Regions from separate parts of the Homo sapiens genome. Here regions 2 and 3 are each linked to region 1. Evidence: promoter capture Hi-C in 16 types of primary human blood cells and fetal thymus (Javierre and others, 2016). All regions are on one chromosome and are shown on one strand. Each heading gives the region's core, a stretch centred on a gene start or on the middle of the fragment in contact. The rest is flanking DNA. Distances are from core to core; before and after follow the strand shown. Region 1 holds the start of FRS2 (fibroblast growth factor receptor substrate 2). Region 2 overlaps CPSF6 (cleavage and polyadenylation specific factor 6). Region 3 has its middle 7.7 kb from the start of MIR1279.

Region 1 (3,376 bases), core at 583-3,082:
CCTCTAGCACCTCTGCATCCCACACAGAGCCTGATAATATCTGTGATTCAGGATTCCTCTCACTATCCCTTTAGGCCTTGAGTAAAAAGAGATGTCGGTGAGTCCTGCCAACCCACGCTGTTTTTTACTTCTTCACACTCTGAGGCACAAAAGGCTGCTTGAATTTGAGTATTACGGAAGTATTTGCCAACACTTCTGCGATCACAAAAATAAAGTAAGAAAGCCCTGTAAATAAAGCCAAGAGCAGTGGCATTGTTTGCATCTTAAATTTGTAATAATGGGTTTTCAACTTTTTTCCTTTCCCCTGCCTTTCATAGTAGAAACATTTAAAAATCTTCCCCGCCACCCCCCCCCCCCCCAGTTTCAAGAGATGTTAGTACATTTGTTTTGCAGATAGTATGCATTGCTAAGAGGCTTTTTTTTCTTTCCCTGCATCCCAGATACAGAATCTGCCTCAGATATCTGGTGCCTTTCTGATTTTGTGGCTGAGGAATCCCACGCCCTCCTCCTTTCCATCCCTTTTCCCTGTCTGGTATGTAACTCTGTGGGTCCTCATATTATCACTGCATGGAGCTTCACAAGCACCTGTATTTTTCCAGTTGTAAAAACCCCTACTCTTTCTTTTTTTTTTTTTTTTTTTTTTTGAGACGGAGTCTCGCTCTGTCGCCCAGGCCGGACTGCGGACTGCAGTGGCGCAATCTCGGCTCACTGCAAGCTCCGCTTCCCGGGTTCACGCCATTCTCCTGCCTCAGCCTCCCGAGTAGCTGGGACTACAGGCGCCCGCCACCGCGCCCGGCTAATTTTTTGTATTTTTAGTAGAGACGGGGTTTCACCTTGTTAGCCAGGATGGTCTCGATCTCCTGACCTCATGATCCACCCGCCTCGGCCTCCCAAAGTGCTGGGATTACAGGCGTGAGCCACCGCGCCCGGCCAACCCCTACTCTTTCTTATTTCCTTAACTAATCTTTTCTATTGCCTATTGCTGATGAGGTATAAGAATCGTTAACTTTTATCCAATGCCAGACATTCTGAAATGTTTATCATGCATTATCATTTTGGATTCCTACAATGCAGAGATGATTTTATAACTTGCCAGGGTGAAAAAATAAAAGTAAATAAAAGGAGACAAGCAAAAAGATTCCAGATCCCCACCCCAACCCCCCCAACCCCCCAACCCCAGCTCTCGCCTCTGTTGAAGTCACCAGTGATGACAGAATATAGGAATATAGTTTGAGCCCTGTTTTTAAATAATTTCAAAATCTTGGTATAGGTAGATGAGATTTATACACACGTGAATTAAAATCAACCAACATTTGTGAGATTGGGTTTGGTATCTTTGACCGTTTTTCTCCCCTGCAAGACGTAGATAATAGCACCAACCCCAAGGAGTTTGGGGATGATTAAATAAGTTAATGCACCCGAAGGGACTTAATACAGTGCCTACCACGTAGTAAGCGTTCAATAAATGTTAACTATTATCATTATTTTTTAAAGGAGGCAGATTGGAGCGTAGAGTACACTGAAGGGAGTCGGGAGGCCGGGTGTAGGCACTGGATTCTTGCACCTAATTCTCCGAGCCTCGGTTTCCTTATTTGTAAAATTAGCTGGCTGGAGTAAAACAACTCAAACAGCAGTTAAAGCAAAGGGTGCAGCAGTAGCCGGGGAATCGAGGAGGCGCGGGGCGGAAAGGGTTAGTTAGGAGCCCAGAGGCTGATCTGTGGGCGCCCGGCGAGAGAGGCCCCGCCCCGCCCTGGAGGCCCTGGCAGCTCCGGGCTGAGAGCAGTTCCGGTGCCAAAACCCTTCCCTCCCCCGCTCCCCCGGAAGTGCTTTTCCAAGATTCGGGCCGGAGAGAGGCCTTGTAGGCACAGCGGCTGAGACTCGATCTGCTCCAAGTAGGGGCTCCAGCGCGGGTCGGAGTCTGGGGGTTCGCGCCCGCCGACCCGCGCCCTGCTCCCTCTCAGCACCTGGGCGGACGGTGAGTGGCTAGGGAAACGGACTGGGACGGCCGCGGGCCCGCGTCGGAGCTGGCGTTCTCGTGCCCCCGCTGCCCGCTTCGGGATCCGGGCTGAGGGCTCGGCTGCCGGCGTCCGGGGAAGGGGATTGTCGACCGCCGCGGACTTCTCCGGGCCAGCGGGACGGGAAGAGCTGGCTGTGGGTCCATGGGGTGGGCGGGGCGGAGCCAGGGAGGGGGTTCCCAGAGCTGTTGTTGCTGTTGGGACTCGAGAGTGGGGATGGGCTGGGCCTCTGTTCGTCCGTCCGACCCCCCTCATGTGTGCTGCCCCAAACCTCGCCGCTCCCTAGTTTGGTATTCTGTGTCCGGCCTGGGGTAGTAGCTGGACACCAGACTCAATCTTGGGCTCCAGTTCCCGACTTTTCGCCTCCTCTGGGTCTGTCCTGGGGTCAGTAATTAACCCGGGTCCCAGGGGTGTCGTCTTTTCCCTCCAGGGTGGGGCGCTGCCTGTACATGCCAGGGATCTTTTGCAGGGCTTTTCATCCAGATTTGCTTCAGGGTTGTCCGGGATCGATTTGGACTGGGCTCGGAACCGGTCCTGGATACGTAGGTCGCTGTGGCACCAGCATGCTCTGTATCATCTTTACTCACTTGAAAGCTTGCTGAAGCTGTTGTTGAAGTAAACTTAAAGAAAAAACTTGCTTAAGGAAAATCAGTAGTTTAGACACCCCCTCCCCCGCCTTTTTTTGCAGACATACTAAAAAAAAAAAGATGCTTTTCTCTAATCTACACTCTTAATTCTTTTGGCTATCTGATGTCACAGTTGTATGATGAGTTCATTCAGAGGCTGTACGAATTGATTTTAAAGAGTTGGACAGTTATATCCTTTCTCCCAAAGTTTGTTTACCTTCATATTTGGAACTGTCATTTTTCTTAAGGAAAAATTGTTCTTGGATTTTCTTGAGAGATTCCTTACACTGTTAAAATTGTTGCTGCAATGCAGAGTTTCACACAGGTGGGCAGAGATGTTTTGTTTAAACTTATTCCATGAAGTGTTTACTTCGGATAAACTGAGGATTTCCTAGGGGAGAAAGTGATGTAGGTAGGTTTAGTGAACAGATTTTAGGTAGTAAACTTTACTGCTGAAAGGTTTGTAGGAAATATGGGTTTTCCACAATAAATGGTGATTTAAAAACTTTTTATAAGGGAATGCAGTTACTGCAGATTATTGCTATTAGCAGATGGCCACTGTTTTTGCAGCGTAAAGTATTCACAAATCACCTTCTTGAAACCAGTGACGCTATCTGCAACTCTCATCTTGTGTGTAGATTAGGGTTTATTCTGTAGTTTTTTGGGTACTTATGTCATTCTCTTTCCTCCCACCCCTGAAAGGGGAGGTGGTATCATGAATCAGGAAAAATAGAC
Region 2 (3,376 bases), core at 478-2,977, 210 kb before region 1:
ATCTGGTAGTAATCTGTAAGAGAAAAGAGCTTGCCTTTGACATGGTCCCCAGTTTTGTAATTATTACCTTTTTGACCCGGTGTAAGAATCTTTGTGTCTAAACAAATTTGTCATAGATATAGTTATCTTGTATCATCTTTTTAAGTTTTGAAGTCCAAAGTAATAATTTTTTAATCCCAACACTTTGGGAGACCAAGGCAGGAGGATCACGTGAGCCCCAGGAGTTTGAGACCAGCCTTGGCCACATAAGGAGTTTTTCTACAAAAAAATTTTAAAAATATCTGGGCCTGGTGGTGCATGCCTATAGTCCCAGCTACTTGGGAGGCTGTGGTGGGAGGGTTGCTTGAGCCTCAGAGGTCGAGGATGAAATGAACTGTGATCATGTCCCTGCACTCCAGCCTGGGTGACAGAGAGAGAGAGAGAGACCCTATCTTGAAAAAACAAAGTAATAACTTAGGCCTTGATCAAGGATTTTAGCACCTAATGTTTGCTAAGCTTAGCTGTCTGGTGCAGAAATACAAGACATAAATATTATTTCGTAGACAGTTATTATTTCCTTACTGTGAATTTAGCAGAATTTATAGAAGTCTTTTGGGTAGTAAGCTTTGGTTAAATTATTTGTTTTTAAAAAATCGCAGTTCATGAAACATTTCTACTTATTAAATACAATGTGAATACTATATCTATTCTTGCTACTGGTCATAATTGTTAGCCCTCTCCCATGCCTCTTCTCCTCCCCTGAATATAACATGCGTATTAGAAGGTTTCTTTGTGTTGGATGCTGCTCATGAACCATATGTTAAGAGGTTGTCATATTCATGTATTTAAGCCCCATTGTGTGTTGTGATTTCATGACTTTTATATCTAAAAAAACCATATTGTAGATGTTCTTTAGCTTGAAACACGAGTGCTTTGAAATTTTCCCTTTACCTTTCTATTTGTGCATTCAGTAAATACTACACATCTGTTTTAGGCTACTAGTTTAATAGATGATGTGATGCATTTCTGTGATGTGTCTGGTTGCTGATTTTTTTGTTAATGTTTTTAATAGTGAAATTTCTGGTTCATGCTTACCTGGTGAGTTGGTAAGTCGTTATTGGCAGCTCAGGATAGTAAGTTTAAACCAGATTTACAAAGAATTTTTGCTGCCTAAGTTTTTTTAGACATCAAAAAATTGAATATTTTTAGGCTATCTAATTATGGAGAGCATTAATCCAGTAATTTCTTTTAGAAGACGTGAACGATCAAGAGAGAGGGACCATAGTAGATCACGAGAAAAGAGTCGACGTCATAAATCCCGTAGTAGAGACCGTCATGACGATTATTACAGAGAGAGAAGCAGAGAACGAGAGAGGCACCGGGATCGTGACCGAGACCGTGACCGAGAGCGTGACCGAGAGCGCGAATATCGTCATCGTTAGAAGGTGGGTATTCCTTGTTCCCTGTTAAATGTGTGTGTATTCTTAACAGTAACTATAACTCCAAGGCTACTGTTTATACAGTATATACCTACATTTTAAATGGTCCAACTACTTGTGAATTTAATCTTCTGGAAACATCTGAAACAAATTATAGGTAAGTAATGACAGGTAAAAATTTTGACCCTTTATCTTATGAATATTTTATTGCTGAGTTATCACTTTCAGGTTTCAAATAGTTAATGGTCTTAACAAAGCAAGGAAATAATCAAGAGGACTCATTGTGTACTTCTAAAATCTAAAAATTGGGGTTCTTGTATCACATACATAGGTTGCATGCAATTTAAAATACAAAACACAGGGAGTTATTTCACATATATGTTATGTGTTTGGATTTTTAAAAATAAATGGAAAGTTACTATTTTTGAACTAGTTTTATTTGTCCCTAAAAATTTATGAGAAAATCTAACACAATAATAGTTTATAATACAGGAGGGTGTTTTCTCAACATTCAAAGAGAATTTTCCTTTAAAAAAAAAATTTTTTTTTTTAGAAGAGACACTATCCTGACATCTGCTTTTTGTTTTTAAAAGAAACAGTATCCTTTAATTTGCAAAGAAGATGTAAAAGTTAATCAATTAAAATGGGTTTAGGGTGCACTGATTTATATCTAAAAATTTTAAATTGTGTCAAGCCATATACCCAAGTTTAGAATACCTTGAAATAATTTTCTTTGATGTTTCATTCATAAATCATAATCATTGTCTTTTTTTCTGTATTTTAAAACTTTCTTGTGTACATTTTTCATGAAGTGGGAAGAGTTGTCTGTTTATGCTTCATTTTCACATGTAATTTTATTTTTTATATTTGTTAATAGCATTTATTCATGTGAAGAGCTGGGGGAGGGCACTATAAGGCTTATGCATGTGACACAAAGGTTATTCTGTAAATTAAAATATTTTTTCTTTATATGTTGGTTGGCATATTCAAATTAAATTAAGGCTAAACAAACCCCTCATAGGTAAATACTCTTTATGTGATTATTTTCAGTAATCATGGGAAACTTACTGAAAATTCAGTCATGGTAATTGTTAGTATTTAAATTGTTATGGGCAAAATTAAAGGTTTTATCAAGTGTATGTAATTCTGTGACAGAATACCAATTTCTTTAACCATAACAGATACGCAAATGAAGTCCTTAAATGCCTAGAAAATAAGCATGCTATTTTTATGGAACACAGATATAAGCTCCTACACTATTTACAATTTTAAGGGCTTTTTGAGTTAAAAGGCTGGTTTTGATACTTTGCATTTTGAATATGCAGATTGAATATCAAAACTTTAATTTGTAGTTTTCCATGTATTACAAAATTTAATATAAATCTCAAAACATTCTTTTAATATGAGGCAAAAAAACCTTTTACTTTTAAAACTAAGCTTATTGAAATTGATATTGTTTTTGAATGTAAAAATTGAATGTTGTATTATGTAAATCTAAACACTAAATTTTAAAGATGTAGCACTTTTTTCCCCTGAGTTAAATACATCTGATCCCATCTTAATGAAAAAATTCTCAATATCCATCAGTTGCTTAAACTGGATTGTGACTGGGTTATTAGTTGAAATGCTTACCTATGTCAGTCATTTCCATTATAGAAGGGTACAGGTTCTGTAAGTTACCTATTTTTTTGGACTTTATAAGTTATCAGCAAGCTTCTTGTTAGTAAAGGCATGATAATGAAACTTGAATTCATCTACAAAATTGGATGTGCCCATCAAGGGGCCTCTAAACCAATTTAAGCCCAAAGTTAACTAATTACAATTTCTACTGGTTTTAGTAAAACTAGCATAGTCAACCAAGTAAACAAAGTCCATTGTTAATCTTATTTGAGTTAGCTAACATTACATTCTAGTAATGGGTACACCTAAATATATCATGACTTGAGTTTCATTACATT
Region 3 (3,376 bases), core at 457-2,956, 190 kb before region 1:
CTGGCCTTGTTTTTCAAACAGGTTAGGTATCGTCATGTGTCTGAGCCGTTGTGTGGGCCATTTCCCCTGCCTGGAATGCTGGAGATAGCTGCCTGAGAAGAATCTCAGTGAGGTTTGTTTTTACCATTCTATTGAATGGAAACTGCTACCTCCCTTAATTGCTTTATTCTTTACTCTTCCCATGCATTTATGACCTAGCACTATGTATTTTGCTTGTTCGTTCAAATATAAAGTCCCATGAAAGCAAGGATCTTATTGTAGTTTCTGTTAAATCCCAAGTGTCTACATCAGCTTGTGGCAAGCAAATGTTAATATTTGAATGAAGGATCTTGAATTGTAGTTCTGCCTCACTGTCTTGTTAGCAACTATTTTAAGAGCTGCGTCAGCATGTTTAAAATTGTAAAGCATATAGAAGTTGACATTCTAACAATTTTTAAGCATACAATTCAGTGGCATTAAATACATTCACAGTGTTTTGCAACCATCACCACTATCCATTTCCAGAACTTTTCCATCATCCCAAACAAACTCCCCATTCCCACCCTAGCCCCAGTCCCCGATCATCTCTCTTGTACTTCTGTCTCTGAATTTGCCTATTCTGGCTACATCATATAAACAGAATCATACAATATTTGTGTTTTGGCTCTGGTTTATTTCACTTAGTATGTTTTTTGTTTTTTTGAGACGGAGTCTCGCTGTGTCGCCCAGGCTGGAGTGCAGTGGTGCAATCTCGGCTCACTGCAAGCTCCGCCTCCCGGATTCATGCCATTCTCCTGCCTCAGCCTCCCGAGTAGCTGGGACTACAGGTGCCCGCCACCACACCAGGCTAATTTTTTATATTTTTAGTAGAGATGGGGTTTCACCGTGTTAGCCAGGATGGTCTCAATGTCCTGACCTCATGATCCGCCCGCCTCGGCCTCCCAAAGTGCTGGGATTACAGGTGTGAGCCACTGCGCCTGGCTATTTCACTTGGTATGTTTTTAAGATTCATCCATGTTGTAGCATGTGTCAATATGTGGCTGAATATCATCCCATTTTATGTACATATATGCCACATGTTTATCCATCTGTCAGTGGACAGCTTGTTTCTACCTTTTGAATATTGTGAATAATGCTACTATGAACATAGGTGTACAACTATCTGTAAGTCCCTGTTTTCAGTTCTGGGTATATAGGAGTGAAATTGCTGGGTAATGGTAATTCTATGTTTAACTTTTTGGGGAATCATGAAACTTTCCCACAGCTACTATACCATTTTACGTTCTCACCAGCAGTGCATGAAGATTGTAGTTTCTGTACATCCTCAACAATACTTATGCTTTTCTTTTTATCTGATAGTAGTCATCCTAATGGGGACAAGTGGTTATTTCATTGTTAATGGCAATTTTTAAAGCAGCTCATTTTTATGGAGACTTTACAAAGTACTTAACTTGCCGGGCATAGTGGCTCATGTCTGTAATCCCAGCACTTTGGGAGGCCAAGGCGGGTGGGTCGCTTGAGCTCAGGAGTTCTAGCCTGGGTAGTATGGTGAAACCCCATCTCTACAAAAATACAAAAATTAGCTGGATGTGGTGGCACAGGCTTGTGGTCCCAGCTACTCAGGAGAATGATGCGGGAGTCTCGCCTGAGCGTGGTAGGTCGAGGCTGCAGCAAGTGAAGATTGTCCCACTGCACCCCAGGTTGTGCGACAGACACTCAGTGAGACCCTGTCTCAAAAAGAAAAACCAAAGTAAACTTAGTTTTCATTGAACCAATTCTCTTTTGCACTCAAATGTTTCATTGGTTTACATAATACTGAGATGAAATCACAAGCAAAATTACCATTGACATAGTTTAGAAATAAACAGCTGACTCTAAACATTACTAGTAGCATGAGTTCTTGGATATGATGTATTTTGTGTGACTAAGTCAGTTTTATAGAGAGAATGTATAGTTAGGTTATGTGGGGCCAACTGAGGGCTTTTAGAATATTGACATTTTCTTAAATGCTCTAAGTTTGCTCCTGAAAGTATGGTCTACAGGGTATCAACATTGGCATCACCTGGTCTGGGAACTGGTCACAAGTGCAGAATGTACCATGCGAAATCAAAATGTACATTTGAGCAAGATCCCCAGTGATTTGTATGCACATTAAAGATTGACAAATTGTGCCTTTAAACTACTTTTAATGGCTACCTGGTGTTTCAACTTGTAACATAATTTTAACCAGTTCTTGCCACTGGGTGTTCAGGTTATTTCACTAGGTTTTTGAGTATTATAAAGGATGCTGCAATGAATTTCCTTATAGGTAAATCTTAGTGCAAATATCTGTTTTCCAGTAATGAATTTCTTGGAGTGCTTGATTCAGAGTATGAATATTTGAGTTTTTGACACATTAAATTGTCCCGATTTACTTTTACCCAAGCTGTATGTGAAAATGTGTATTTCTCCACATTCTTTTCAGTAATTAGTGCTTTTAAAAATCTATCTTAGTGGTGGAAATGGGTATCTTATTTTTAACTATTTCGTGATTGTTAGAGTGGCTTAAATATATTTAAATGTTAGTTGTGTGCTTCCATCTAGAGATAGGCGTACATAAGAAATGAATCGGTAAATCATGATTTGGTATTTCCATTTTAATAATTGAGGAAACAGTTCAGTAATACAACCAGTAAAGGGCAGACCCAGGAACTGAAGATCTGATTTAGGAACCAAGAAAGATCTGAAAGATCCTTTTCTAATCTATCAAACCAGAATTAACCTAATATATTCTATTATGGTGGAGTTAGCTAATCAAATCAAACCCTTTTTATTTCCATTCTTATACTGAAAATGTTTCTAAGTTTACTTAGTGCACACAATGAGAGTCATTTAAAAGGAAGTTATTTAGTATTTAGATTGTTACCTTAGAGAATCCTTAGATAATACTTTTATTTTTATGTAGGGTCTCACTCTGTCACCCAGGCTGGCGTGCAGTGGCATGATCATGGTTCATCATAGCCTCAACCTCCTGGGCTCAAGCCTCCCGCATAGCGGGGACTACAGATGTGCACCACCACACCCAGCTGATTTTTGTATTTTTTGTAGAGGCGGATTTTGCCATGTTGCCCAGGCTGGTCTCAGATCCTGGGCTCAAGTGATCCACCCTCCTCGGCCTCCCAAAAGTGCTGGGATTGCAGGCGTGAGCCACTGCACCTGGCCTGAGAATACATTTACTTTTTTTTTTTTTTTTTTAAGGAAATTTATAGTATCCTAACATTCTGAATAGAATTCTCATGGTAGGTGTAAGAAAGTGGTCTTAATTTTACTTAGCTATGTAATGCTGCTTTTTGTTTTTGTTTTTAGCCCTAGGTGAAAGCCTATTATAGGCTATATATATAAATATATATATAATATA

The links. The method cuts DNA at HindIII sites, captures the fragments that hold promoters and counts their contacts. A CHiCAGO score of 5 or more calls a contact.
Region 2: a contact is called between a fragment that was not itself captured here and the fragment with the promoter of FRS2 in region 1, in 3 of 17 cell types (non-activated CD4 T cells, activated CD4 T cells and naive CD4 T cells). The highest score is 5.9, in non-activated CD4 T cells.
Region 3: a fragment that was not itself captured here is called in contact with the fragment with the promoter of FRS2 in region 1 in 2 of 17 cell types (neutrophils and M2 macrophages); the score reaches 5.8 in neutrophils.

The regions. Positions count from the first base shown.
Region 1 is chr12:69,468,556-69,471,931 of GRCh38, forward strand. FRS2 (fibroblast growth factor receptor substrate 2) reads left to right here and starts at 1,833. Exons shown (of 9, transcript NM_001278356.2): 1 at 1,833-1,975. RefSeq lists enhancers at 1,504-2,005, 2,177-2,226. The HindIII fragment of the contact is 4,260 bases long and covers 1-2,607 here.
Region 2 is chr12:69,261,139-69,264,514 of GRCh38, forward strand. It overlaps CPSF6 (cleavage and polyadenylation specific factor 6), which reads left to right. Exons shown (of 10, transcript NM_007007.3): 9 at 1,235-1,424. The coding sequence ends at 1,421. Among named protein-coding and RNA genes, the nearest start is that of MIR1279, 10 kb to the right of the region's middle. The HindIII fragment of the contact is 2,252 bases long and covers 602-2,853 here.
Region 3 is chr12:69,279,203-69,282,578 of GRCh38, forward strand. No RefSeq gene overlaps it. Among named protein-coding and RNA genes, the nearest start is that of MIR1279, 7.7 kb to the left of the region's middle. The HindIII fragment of the contact is 7,876 bases long and covers 1-3,376 here.